Linked DNA regions of Homo sapiens: regions 2 and 3 are each linked to region 1. Evidence: promoter capture Hi-C in 16 types of primary human blood cells and fetal thymus (Javierre and others, 2016). All regions are on one chromosome and are shown on one strand. Each heading gives the region's core, a stretch centred on a gene start or on the middle of the fragment in contact. The rest is flanking DNA. Distances are from core to core; before and after follow the strand shown. Region 1 holds the start of MPO (myeloperoxidase). Region 2 overlaps HSF5 (heat shock transcription factor 5). Region 3 overlaps HSF5 (heat shock transcription factor 5).

Evidence for each region. The method cuts DNA at HindIII sites, captures the fragments that hold promoters and counts their contacts. A CHiCAGO score of 5 or more calls a contact.
Region 2: a contact is called between a fragment that was not itself captured here and the fragment with the promoter of MPO in region 1, in 1 of 17 cell types (M2 macrophages). The highest score is 5.1, in M2 macrophages.
Region 3: a fragment that was not itself captured here is called in contact with the fragment with the promoter of MPO in region 1 in 1 of 17 cell types (M1 macrophages); the score reaches 5.6 in M1 macrophages.

Annotation. Positions count from the first base shown.
Region 1 is chr17:58,279,136-58,283,426 of GRCh38, reverse strand. It overlaps MPO (myeloperoxidase), which reads left to right and starts at 2,492. Exons shown (of 12, transcript NM_000250.2): 1 at 2,492-2,822; 2 at 2,968-3,061; 3 at 3,413-3,588; 4 at 3,781-3,904; 5 at 4,001-4,130; 6 at 4,213-4,291. The coding sequence starts at 2,669. RefSeq lists promoters at 1,212-1,412, 1,458-1,683, 1,568-1,969, 2,362-2,502, 1,908-2,502 and enhancers at 1,542-1,559, 4,144-4,291. The HindIII fragment of the contact is 16,452 bases long and covers 733-4,291 here.
Region 2 is chr17:58,455,819-58,460,109 of GRCh38, reverse strand. HSF5 (heat shock transcription factor 5) reads left to right here. Exons shown (of 6, transcript NM_001080439.3): 5 at 1,165-1,342. Among named protein-coding and RNA genes, the nearest start is that of HSF5, 30 kb to the left of the region's middle. The HindIII fragment of the contact is 2,581 bases long and covers 1,058-3,638 here.
Region 3 is chr17:58,435,939-58,440,229 of GRCh38, reverse strand. The region is part of intron 5 of HSF5 (heat shock transcription factor 5); the gene reads left to right. Among named protein-coding and RNA genes, the nearest start is that of RNF43, 21 kb to the right of the region's middle. The HindIII fragment of the contact is 3,086 bases long and covers 1,004-4,089 here.

The sequences.
Region 1 (4,291 bases), core at 1,243-3,742:
TGCTCTCATGCATGGCTGATGGGAGGATGAGGTAAAATCTTCAGCAGGCCATTTGACTATCAATATTAAAAAGCCCTAAAACACGCATACCCAAATACGCAGGAATTTTACTTCTTGCCTAAGGAAATAATTGACGATGTGGCGAGAGATTTAACTCCATGGATGCTTATCCTAGTACTACTTATAATAATGAAAATCAGAAACAACTCTAAGTATCTAATGAGATAGAATTAGTTAATAAATCATATAAAATAGTTATATGAAATATTATACAGACATAAAAATGAAGTAAACCTGTATTTATTGACACAGGGAGATGCTCAGACTAAAATTGTTAAGTACCGAAAGTAGATGGTAAAACAATATTTAAAGTTCTTCTTATCAATATTTAAAAATATATATTATGTTTACATATAGGATATCAAATTCTTAAATGAGGTATTGGTGAGTGGTGGGATTATGGGCAATTATTTTCCTTCCTATTGTTTATTTATGTGAAGACAATGATAAACCTTGAAAGAAAAAAGTACCCACAATCTCACTTGATGATGAGTAATTTTGATTTATTTTTATTTTTGCATACTCGTGTTCTCAAACTTTTCATCAGTGAAAATTATATTACTTAAAGGATTGAAAAATCATTTCCAAAAGCCTCTAAAATTCTAGAGCTTGATTCACAAAGAGCCACTCGACCAACTTCACACACAGCAAGTCACTGGCAGGGCAAAAGCTTGGTTCCCCTTCTCAGCAGGGGACAGAATCCCTGGACACACTGGGAAGATATTCTGGGTGTTGCTGTCCCTTGTCCCTTGGCCAAGAGGTGGTCTGGGCATAGAAGACAAGAGTGGGCCGGGCGCGGTGGCTCACGCCTGTAATCCCAACAGTGGGTGGATCAGGAGGAGGTCAGGAGTTTGAGACCAGCCTGGCCAACATGTTGAAACCCCATCTCTACTAAAAATACAAAATATTAGCCGGGCATGGTGGCGGGCGCCTGTAATCCCAGCTACTTGGGAGGCTGAGGCAGGAGAATTGCTTGAACCCAGGAGGCAGAGGTTGCAGTGAGCCGAGATTGCACCACTGTACTCCAGCTCCGCCAACAGTGAGAGACCCTGTCTCAAAAAAAAAAAAAAAAAAAAAGAGTGGGTGGCGGGAAGGTGGCTGAAGGTAGGAGGGGGAACCTAAATGGGACATGGGAGGCATGGTTGGCACGAGCTCAGCCTGACCAGGGCCCAGAGAGGTAGACTGATTCAGTCAAAAGTCGTAGTACTTTTCCTGCTGAGATTGGTGGCCCTTTTGCTGGGCTTTCTCAAGCAAGAAATATCCTCTTCTGTTTCAGAATTATTCTGAATCATTAACCCAAGTCCTCCCAACTGCACTGATCCTGTCCCAGAGAGGCCCTGGGCTGCATCACCTAACTGATCACTAACCACAACCAGTTCTGCTCTCTCCTGGTTCCTGAAATCCAGGAGCAGATGGTGGTGGGGAGGAGGAGTTTGGAGACAGCCCTCTACCAGAAGCCAAGAAGAAAGGGGAGTGAGGAGGGATAGAGGAAGTTATCTTGGTCCTGCGCCCACAGTCCCCAGGGTCCTCCTTCCTGTGAAGCCCAACGGTCTCCAGCCAGATTTCCTGTCCCCTTAGCCCCACCAAGAACCAGAGGCTGCCCATTGGGTGGCTGTTGGATGCAGGTTACTGTTGGAGTGGGGGATGGCCACCTGAGGCCAATTGGGTCATCTTTACTCCAGGTCTCCCTTTCATCCTCCTGTCTTCCCTGGGGGCACTCTATTCCCTGCAATTCCTTGGGCTACCAGTTCCTGACTTTTGTTCCTTTCAAAGGAACCCTGGATAACCAGTGTAACCAGAATTTCAGAGGGGTTAGTTGTGTGTATCCCCTGGGGACAAGCACTGGTATAGGCACACAATGGTGAGCTGAGAAATCTTGGGCTGGTAGTGCTAAATTCAAAGGCTGGGGACAGGCTGGGGCCAGTGGCTCATGCCTGTAATCCCAGCACTTTGGGAGGCTGAGGCGGGTGGATCACTTGAGGTCAGGAGTTCAAGACCAGCCTGGCCAACATGGTGAAACCCTGTATCTACTAAAAATACAAAAATTAGCTTCTTGCCTAAGGAAAAATACAAAAATTACTTCTTGCCTAAGGAAATAATTGATGATGTGGCTAGAGGCTAGGGCGTGGTGGCGGGCACCTGTAATCCCAGCTACTCGGGAGGCTGAGGCAGAAGAATCGCTTGAACCATTGCACATCAGCCTGGGCAACAGAGCAAGATAACGTCTCAAAAAAAAAAAAAAAAAAGGCTGGGGACAATGCTGGCCCCTCCTTTCCTGCCCCTTCCCCCCATTTCAGGGGCCCCTCTGTGTGTACCTTCCAACCCCAGTGGGGGAGGAGAAAGAGTTCAGTCTCCAGGATCAGACCTTCCTCTACCTCACCCCACCCCCAGCTTAGAGGACATAAAAGCGCAGATTGAGCTAAGAGGAGCTGACAATATCAGGTGAGCTGTGGAGGTGGGGTCCTTGGAAGCTGGATGACAGCAGCTGGCAAGGGGATAAGAGAGCAGTGAGCCCCTCCCTCAAGGAGGTCTGGCTTTATCCATAGACAGGGCCCTCTGAGGTGGGGCTGAGGTACAAAGGGGGATTGAGCAGCCCAGGAGAAGAGAGATGGGGGTTCCCTTCTTCTCTTCTCTCAGATGCATGGTGGACTTAGGACCTTGCTGGGCTGGGGGTCTCACTGCAGAGATGAAGCTGCTTCTGGCCCTAGCAGGGCTCCTGGCCATTCTGGCCACGCCCCAGCCCTCTGAAGGTGCTGCTCCAGGTAACAGTTCCCAAGGTGGGAGAAGATGGTGTGTTGGGGTGGTTGTGTTCCAGAGACCCCTTTTCTCAGAGCAGGCCTTCCTAGCTCTGGGGCCTGATAGGGGGTTGGGGCCCATTCCTGACTTTGTGATCCCTGCTCTGGGCAGCTGTCCTGGGGGAGGTGGACACCTCGTTGGTGCTGAGCTCCATGGAGGAGGCCAAGCAGCTGGTGGACAAGGCCTACAAGGAGCGGCGGGAAAGGTGGGGCACGAGGCACTGCCCAGCTCTGGGCAAGGATGTCCCAGGCCTTTCAGAGAAGCAGCAGGCAGCAGGGAGCTTGAAGGTGGGAGAGGGGGACTATGGGGACCCATGTGGACTCCCTTTCTGTCTGTCTGTCCCTGTGTTTCTGGATGGGAGAACAGCTTAAAAGCCATCCTTCCCAAAGCCTTGCCTCTGTCTGGACACCCAGGTCCATATCCTTTTTATAAAAGGAAGCCTTCCTCCCACCCGTGGGCCTGCCTGCATGGTCCTGCATGTCTGCCCCTGGGCTGGGGCTCTGCTGGGTGGGTCTGTATCCCTTCTCTGGCCCTCACTCCTCCTTTCTCCAAGCAGCATCAAGCAGCGGCTTCGCAGCGGCTCAGCCAGCCCCATGGAACTCCTATCCTACTTCAAGCAGCCGGTGGCAGCCACCAGGACGGCGGTGAGGGCCGCTGACTACCTGCACGTGGCTCTAGACCTGCTGGAGAGGAAGCTGCGGTCCCTGTGGCGAAGGCCATTCAATGTCACTGGTACTGTTGCCCATCACACCCCAGGTCCCTGCTCCACTAGTGACTCCTCCTAGGGACCCCAGCCGTCTCTCAGTGATCCCCTCAACTTCTTCCTCCAGGGAGTCTCAGGAGTCTCCAGGGCTCCTCAGCCTCAGGTTGCCTGGGATAGGAAGTGAGGCGGCTCAGCTCCCCCATTGTTCTTTCCCCCGGCAGATGTGCTGACGCCCGCCCAGCTGAATGTGTTGTCCAAGTCAAGCGGCTGCGCCTACCAGGACGTGGGGGTGACTTGCCCGGAGCAGGACAAATACCGCACCATCACCGGGATGTGCAACAACAGGTGCGGCTGGCTGGGGGTGGCTGCAGGAACCGGGCTCAGAGAGGCGTCCCGGACGCCACAAGCCTCCCGGTGTCAGCGCCCTGTCCTCCCCTGCAGACGCAGCCCCACGCTGGGGGCCTCCAACCGTGCCTTTGTGCGCTGGCTGCCGGCGGAGTATGAGGACGGCTTCTCTCTTCCCTACGGCTGGACGCCCGGGGTCAAGCGCAACGGCTTCCCGGTGGCTCTGGTGAGCGCCGGCGGGCAGAGGGGGCGAGGCCCGGCCACGCGGTGCGCGGACCCAGGCGCCAGCTGATCTCCGTGTCCCGCAGGCTCGCGCGGTCTCCAACGAGATCGTGCGCTTCCCCACTGATCAGCTGACTCCGGACCAGGAGCGCTCACTCATGTTCA
Region 2 (4,291 bases), core at 1,099-3,598, 180 kb before region 1:
GGAGGTCAAGGCTGTAGTGAGCCGTGATCACACCACTACACTCCAGCCTGGGCAACAGAATGAGACCCTGTCTGAAAGAAAGAAATTTGTATTTTATAAACAGGGCAGATATAGATTTTATAGGGGCTAAAGCTTATACAATTTTGAGGGCCTCTTTAAGAGAAAGAATACAAAATTAGTAGAATAAAGTATCCACATCCCACTGAAACCATCTAACAGGATCATGCCTATGGCCATTCCAACAGGAGAGGAAGTCTGATAGAACATATTCTACAGAGAAAAAAGATGGTTTTAACCAATCATGGTGAAACTATCTTACTTTTGGTCAGGTGTGGTGGCTCACGTCTGTAAACCCAGTGCTTTGGGAGGCCCAGGTGGAAAGATCCCCTGAGACCAGGAGTTACCAGCCTGGGCAACATAGCGAGACCCTGTCTCTACAAAAAAACCTTTTTTTTTTTTTTTTGAGATGTAGTCTCACTCTGTTGCCCAGGCTGGAGTGCAGTGGTACAATCTCGGCTCACTGCAACCTCCATCTCCTGGGTTCAAGCGATTCTCCTGCCTCAGCCTCCCGAATAGCTGGGATTACAGGCACCTGCTACCACGCCCGGCTAATTTTTTGTATTTTTGGTAGAGACAGGGTTTCACCATGCTGGCCAGGCTGGTCGAGAACTCCTGACCTCATGATCTGCCCACCTTGGCCTCCCAAAGTGCTGGGATTACAGCTGTGAGCTACCGCGCCCGGCCTACAAAAAAACTTTTTAAAAATTAGCTAATACCTGTAGTCCTAGCTGCTCAGGAGGATCACTTGAGCCCATGAGCTCGAGGTTACAGTGAGCTATGATTGTACCACTGTACTCCCGCCTGGACAACAATGTGAGACCCTGCCTTAAAACAAAAAAAAAAACCTGTACTTTTGTAAGTTAAAAAAAAATCAACAAGCTTCATGGTAGATATTCCTCTGATCATAAGTAAATGTTTTAGCTCCATATACATTTTAATAGTTTGTGTAGGGAGAAAGGTATAGTATCAATAATAAGAATGAAAAGCCTTATAAGCTTGTTTGTTGGATCATGTTCCCATAATAGAACTCCTCTGATAAAATATCTTAACTTTTAGCAGATATTTGGAGGAAATCTCAAATAATGAATGGGTTTAATATTTTAGGTGGATGCCAACATAAAATGCCAGACCAGTTCACGTGAGAATATCTTGCCGTCAGAACAGATGGGATTCCTCATTTCAGAAATGGGGCCTGCTAGCAAGCCTAGTGAAGACACAGGTTTAGCCACTCCAGCCAGATACAGAGAGCACAGAAGCAACTCACAACAAGGAAAGTCCCCTGGTAAGGATTATTGTGCTCTAGAATGCCAGAAGTAGAATCACGCTGTAGAATTAATATATGAATGACATTTTTTCTGGGTCTCCATTTATTATTCATAATTGTATTAGACCTGTCACATTGCTGTTTTTACATAGCTGTAATTTTAACTCTATATTTGTTCTTAATTATTGTTGTGAAGTATGTAATAGTTATTTTCTTAATATTGCATATAATGATTTGGGCTTTGAAAATATAGAACATATTAAGAATAAGCAAAGGAATTTAGATTATTTAACTTGGAGAAGGCAAGGATGAAGGATGATTTAATAAGTATCCTCAGATGCCAGACTTCGAAATTGTAGTTGTACTTACTCTGTTATTAACAGACTCTAGGACAAGAGGGCATGCATTTATATTGTGACAAGAGAAAATCAGATGGAAATTTAGGATATTATCCTGAGCGCATTTTAAAGATACTATAAAGTATGACCCTATACCAATGAATGGTTTGTTATTCTTGTGGTTTGTAAGAACCCAGAATAAGTGATTGTTTTAGGCACATACAGTTGATTCTAATAAGACAAAATCATATTTTTTGAAGAAATAGTAACATCTAATAAAACATGTGTCTCATATCATCCAAAAATCAAGTTACCAAAGTCTGCAGTGGACAATTTTAATATTCTAGAATTATGTTCATGTCAGGGGCATGCAGTGCAGGCAGAATGACAGTGTAGGTTAAAATGACAGACCATCATTTTAACCTACAATAATTTGAAAAATGTTGAGAACTTCTGTGAGAATTTTTCCAAAAAGTAAATTAATAGTGATATGATCATGGTGTAGCTCAGACTCATAGGGTTCTTTCTGCAAAATGTCTTTTAGGCTAAAAACTGTCTATCATTTATTCACTAAATTTAGCTTGCACACTTTTAGTTGATTATATTTTCCAATCCATAATTAAAGACTAAAGATTTCTTACCACTGAAGGTGTTTAACACAATGGCATGAGCCTTGAAGGCAATTTAGATGAGAGAAAGGCAGGAACTAACATTTACCGTATCCATTTTTGTGCCATAGGACAAATCTGTTGGAAGTGGCATTGTCATTTTAAACATCAGGAAATTTAGGCTTAGAGTAAGTAACTTGTTCAAAGTCACATATAAATTTGTTTTATTTTTTCATTTTTTAGAGACAGAGTCTTTCTCTGTTGCCCGGGCTAGAATGCAGTGGCGCATCTTGGCTCACTGCAGCCTCCACCTCATAGATTCCAGCAATTCTCATGGCTCAGCCTCCCGAGTAGCTGGGACTACAGGTGCGTGGCACCACACCCGGCTAATTTTTGTATTTTTAGTAGAGATGGGGTTTCACCATGTTGGCCAGGCTGGTCTTGAACTCCTGGCCTCAAGTGATCCACCCACCTCGGCCTCCTAAAGTGCTGGGATTACAGGCATGAGCCACCATGCCTGGCCCTTTTTTCTTTTCTTTCCTTTTCCTTTTCTTTATTATTATTATTATTTTTTTTTTCTGAGACAGAGTCTTGCTCTGTTGCCCGGGCTGTAGTGCAATGGCGTGATCTTGGCTCACTGCAACTTCCACCTCCCAGGTTTAAGTGATTCTCCTGCCTCAGCCTCCTGAGTAGCTGGGATTACAGGCACACTCCACCACGACTAGCTAATTTTTGTATTTTTAGCAGAGGCAAGGTTTCCGCCATGTTGGCCAGGCTGGTCTTGAACTCCTGACCTCAGGTGATCTGCCTGCCTCGGCCTCCCACAGTGCTGGGATTGCAGGCATGAGCCACTGCACCCAGCTGCCTTTTTTCATTTTTTATAGAGATGGGGTCTCACTATGTTGCCCAGGCTGGTCTTGCACTCCTAGGCTCAAGCAGTCCTCCTGCCTTGACCTCTCAAAGTGCTGGGATTATGAGCATGAGCCACCATGCATGGCCAGTCACATATAAACTAATATTGCTAATATCCTACCCTAAGTTGTCTGCCTGTAGAGCACATATTCTTTCCTTTTAATTTTTTATTGTGTTGAAGAACATGTAACATAAAATTTATCATTTTAACCATTTTTATTTTTAATTTATAATTTAAATATAATTGTACATATTTATGAGGTACAATGTGATTTTTTGACACATGTATATGTAGTGTAATGATCAAATTGAGATAATTACCATATCCATCACTCTAAACATTTATCATTTCTTTGTGGTGATAACACTCTAAACCTTTTCTTCTAGCTGTCTTGAAATATACACTACATTGTTATTTGCTACAATTATGCTACTGTGTAATAGAATACCAAAGCTTATTCTTCCTATCTAACTACAACTTTTGACCAACTTCTCCCAATATCCCCACTTTCCTACTTTCCCCAGCCTCTGGTATTTACTATTCTACTTTCTTCTATGAAATTAACTTTTTTAGCTTCCATATATGAGTAAGATCATGTAGTATTTGTCTTTCTGTGCCTGGCTTATTTCACTTAACATAATGTTCTCCAGGTTCACCTATGTTGCCAAAAATGACAAGATTTCATTCTGTTTTATGGCTGAATAGTATTCCATTGTATATTTATGTACGTACGTGTGTGTGTGTGTGTGTGTGTGTGTGTATATACACACACACATATATATATATACACACACACATATATATATATATATCACATTTTCTTTATTCATCTGTAGATGCGTATTTAGGTTGATCCATATCTTGGCTATTGTAAATAGTGCTGTGGTAAACACGGGTGTGGAGATGTCTCTTCAACATACTGATTTCATCTTCTTTGGAGATACATCCAGTAGTGGGACTGCTAAATTATATAGTGGTTCTATTTTTAATTTTTTAAGAACCTTCATACTGTTTTTCTATAATGCTATGCTAACTTACATTCCTACAAATAGCATATAAGAGTTCCCTTTTCTCTGCATCTTTGCCAGCATTTGTTATTTTTTGTCTT
Region 3 (4,291 bases), core at 1,297-3,796, 160 kb before region 1:
TCAATCTCCTACAGATGGCAAATGTCACAAAGGTAAAAGTAGCCTCAAATACAAGGCTTACTCTCTGGATCCCCACTCTCACCTGACACTCAGCCCAGTCATTCTTTACTATCTCATTACCTTTTGAGACTTTTAAAGAATATTGTTTCTATCATCTGTCCAGGTTTTTTAGTTGTCTTCAATAGGAAAGCTGGTCTTAATTATCAGGCCTGACATTACCAGAAGTGGTCATATCATTAAAAAAAAAAATTCTTACCTCTTTACCCTTCCATTTTTCCTATTTTTTCTTTAGTCCAGTATTGGATATGCTGAGATGAACTTCTCTCTCTGTTTTTTTCTTTCAATTTTGTTATACTTTTATCTTTTTTCTATTTTGTGGAATGTTCCTCAGATGAAACTTTCAAATGTTTAATTTTAAAAATTTGGCTACTAAATTTATAATTTCCAGTTGGGCATGGTGGCTCATGCCTGTAATCCCAGCACTTTGGGAGGCCAAGGCGGGCGGATCACCTGAGGTTGGGAGTTCCAGACCAGCCTGACCAACATGGTGAAACCCCGTCTCTACTGAAAATACAGAATTAGCTGGGCATGGTGGCGCATGCTTGTAATGCCAGCTACTCAGGAGGCTAAGGCAGGAGAATTGCTTGAACCCGGGAGGTGGAGGTTGCAGTGAGCCGAGATCGCGCTATTGCACTTTAGCCTGGGCAACAAGAGCAAAACTCCGTCTCAAAAAAAAAAAAATTATAACTTCTAACAGCTCTTTTTTATTCTATTCTATAATTGTTCCTTTTTGGGGGAACTTGCTGTTCTTTTATATGGATATAATATCTTCTTATAGCTCTCTGAGGATACTAAATGGAAGGGCTGGTTTTGAAGTTGTTTCCCCACAACATATGTCAGTTTCCTCTACGTTCTTTCTGGTTTTTTTTTTTGGTTGTTGTTGTTTTTGTTTTTTTTTTCCATTGGCTTTCTTCCCTATTCAAGAATGGAGCATTAAAAAGCTTACAGAAGCTCTGTTGACAAGATTTGTCAACTGTTGGGCTTAGCTTAATGTTAATCAGCATGTACCACCAATTTTTTTTATTTATTATTATTTTTTTTTTGAGGCAGGGTCTCACTCTGTTGCCTAGTCTGGCACGATCATAGCTCACTGCAGCCTTGATCTCTGGGCTAAAGTGATCCTCCCACCTCAACCAACCTACCCCCAACCCCCCAAAGAAGTAGCTGGGACTACAGGCACATGCCACCACACCTAGCTGATTTTTTTTTACTTTTCAAAGAGATGGAGTCTCACTGTGTTGCCCAGGCTGATCTCCAACTCCTGGTCTCAAGCAATCCTCCCAACTTAGCCTCCCAAAGTGCTGGGATTACAGGTGTCAGCCACCATGCCTGGCCTTAAGGCACTTCTTAGTGCAACTTCAGGTTGGGGTATTGAAGCAGTTGGATTCATGACCCAGTTACTGAACTCTAGTCAATAAGTTGTCAACCACAGGCAGTCAAATATTCCCTTCCATCTCTGCTTGCACACTAGGTACCTCTAGCCTGAGTTTATCTCTTCTTTTAGGGCTTTGCTGAATGTGTCAAGAAATAGTCAACACCTTGTGATTTTTGTCAATCTTTTCCCCCATGGTTGTATGTTCACTTGGCATGTGTGGTCTGACTTCCATGGTGTCACAGGTAATGATTTTACCAAATATGTTGGCATGGATAACAAAGATCACCAACATTCTAGCTTGCTGTGTCCTAACCATGTGCTGCCTGACTGCAAAGCCAGTAGCACATATAATCATGTATCCCTTAATGACAGGAATGTATTCTGAGAACTATGTCATTAGTTAATGTTATTGTTTTATAAACATTGTGAATTGTACTTACACAAACCTAGATGATGTTGCCTACTACATACCTAGGCTGTATAGTATAGCCTATTGCTTCTAGGCTACAAACCCTTACAGCATGTTACTGTATTGAATATTGTAAGCAATTGTAATACAGTGGTATTTGTGTATCTAAACATAGCTAAGCATAGAAATGGTACAGTAAAAATAGAGTACAATCTTACAGAATCATCATCATCTATATGGTCTGTCACTGACCAAAATCAACCAATTATTTTTTTTTTTGGCAATTTGATTGGCAAAACTTTAACTGTTGATAATATCCAGCTTTGATAAAGGTATAGAGAAAAGGAACCTTCTCTATGCTGTAATTGGAATGTAAATTCGTATAGCCCTATAAAGGACAATTGGCATTATTTATAGATAACTAAAATGCTTATGAGTTTTGACTCAGGAACTCTACTCCTGGGAATCTCTCCTGTAGAAATGTGTATATTCCCAAAGGTACTCAAAATAAGTTTGCTATAGTGTTATTTATAATAGCAAAAATTTGAGAAAAGCATAAATGCCTGACAGTGGGGAACCAGATACATTATGACATCTACATAATAAAATACTGTGCAACCATTTAAGAAACTGAAGTAGCTTGATGTGTTGTGACCTGGAAAGACAGTAAGTGTTCATAATGTGTTCAGCAAATGGGTAAGTTGCAACACAATATGTCTAGCACAACCCCCTTTCTAGAAAGAAAGAAAAGAAAGTATATGCTGTAAAATTATAGAAAAAAGTCTGGAGATATACGATATAGCTGATAAATATAACACTAGTTATCTCTCAGAAGATAGAATGTATGGGTGCAGGGGTATGCTTAACTTCTCAATTTGTATATGTATATATAATAGGATTACGGGAAATTTTCACCATCTGTATTCTTCTATGTTTTTCAAATTTTAAAAAATCTAAAAATACTAAAAGTAGTTTAAATACTTGAAGTGTTCCTATAGCAGGAATATAAAAGCCTTAAAGTAATAGAAATGAACAATTTCAGAGTGTTTTTAAAAAATATTTATATCCCAGATAGTAAACTGACTTTTGAGGTTTAGATATGATTGACTCAAGATAAACTTACCCTATACCAAGAATGCCTTTCTAAGATTTCTGAGACTTTCTAGGGTTCACAGTAGCTTTTATTTTTGAGTTTCTGCTTAAATGTAATTCCAGACTTGTCCATATCTGACCTCCCAGGGCTGTTCTTATCTGTCTGTTCCATGCTATACCAGATGCAGAACTTGGCCCACTTTCTTTGACCTCTTCCTCCCTTTAAGCATTATGCTAGGCATGTGTATGTGTAGCACACTTTTATGAAGATGTCGGGAGGCAGAAATACCGACAGAAATATTTAGAATACCGCAAAAATGGAATTAAAAGGCCCCCAGTCACTTTACGGCATCTTTCCTTGTCACTAGTCAATATGGTCCTCTGCCATGTTGCTTTCTTTCCTTGTACTAGCACCAGACCTTCGTTTCTCTGCTTTCTGTTGTTGTTGTTGTTATGGTTGGTTTTTTTTTTCTGCTCTTTCCCCAGGTGCTGAATTCCTGTGTTTTACTTAGGCAAAGAAGGTTAGGTATCTCTTCTATTTTTTGATGTTTTTAAGGCGTCATTTTTCCCAACCAGAACAATCTATCGAGACATATTCCTCAACAAAGACAATTACCTCCCTGAGAGGAACTCTGGTGCCTGCTGTTAAAAAAATAATTTCCTCTCTTTCACTACATGTTATGGTTATAAGTGTAACTGATAAAATAATTAGCACAGTAATTATCTTTATTAACTCTTCCTGTTGTTTTTTTTTTCTAAGTAAAGCCTTATCCTTTGGTCAGTGCAGTTAATAGATGAGTCTTAATTGATGTTGGCTTCCTGCTGTGAAACATAAGAGTTGTGAAATCTTGGCATCATTATGACACCTAATCACATTTTCATTTTATTATGGACAAGAGGAAAATGAGTTATGATTAAGCTAGAACCTCTCTGCTAAAAAAAAAAAAAGTTTTTTAATTAAAGTGTAGGCAGAAATACAATTCATGAAGTTGCAAATGATTCTGCTCTGATAGACCTTGGCCTAGCAGTTGGTCTATGAAAACATGGCTATATGTAAGGTCCCATGGCATTAAGAGACCTTAACCAAAGTCAATGTGTGAGATTAATATACTGCTCATTAAAAACAGTACAGCATATGGTTAGAAAGAAAGCTTTTGGTGTTAGAAAAACCTGCATTAAAACCTGGATTCTGCTCTTTACTGTGTGACCTTGGACGTGTTTACCTAACTGAGCTTTGGTGTCCTCATCTGCAAAATGAGGAATATGGATTATAATGATATAAATCATAGAACTGGCTTAGTATTATGCTGGGTTACATAGTAAGTAGTCCATACATAGTAGCAATAGAATTTTAG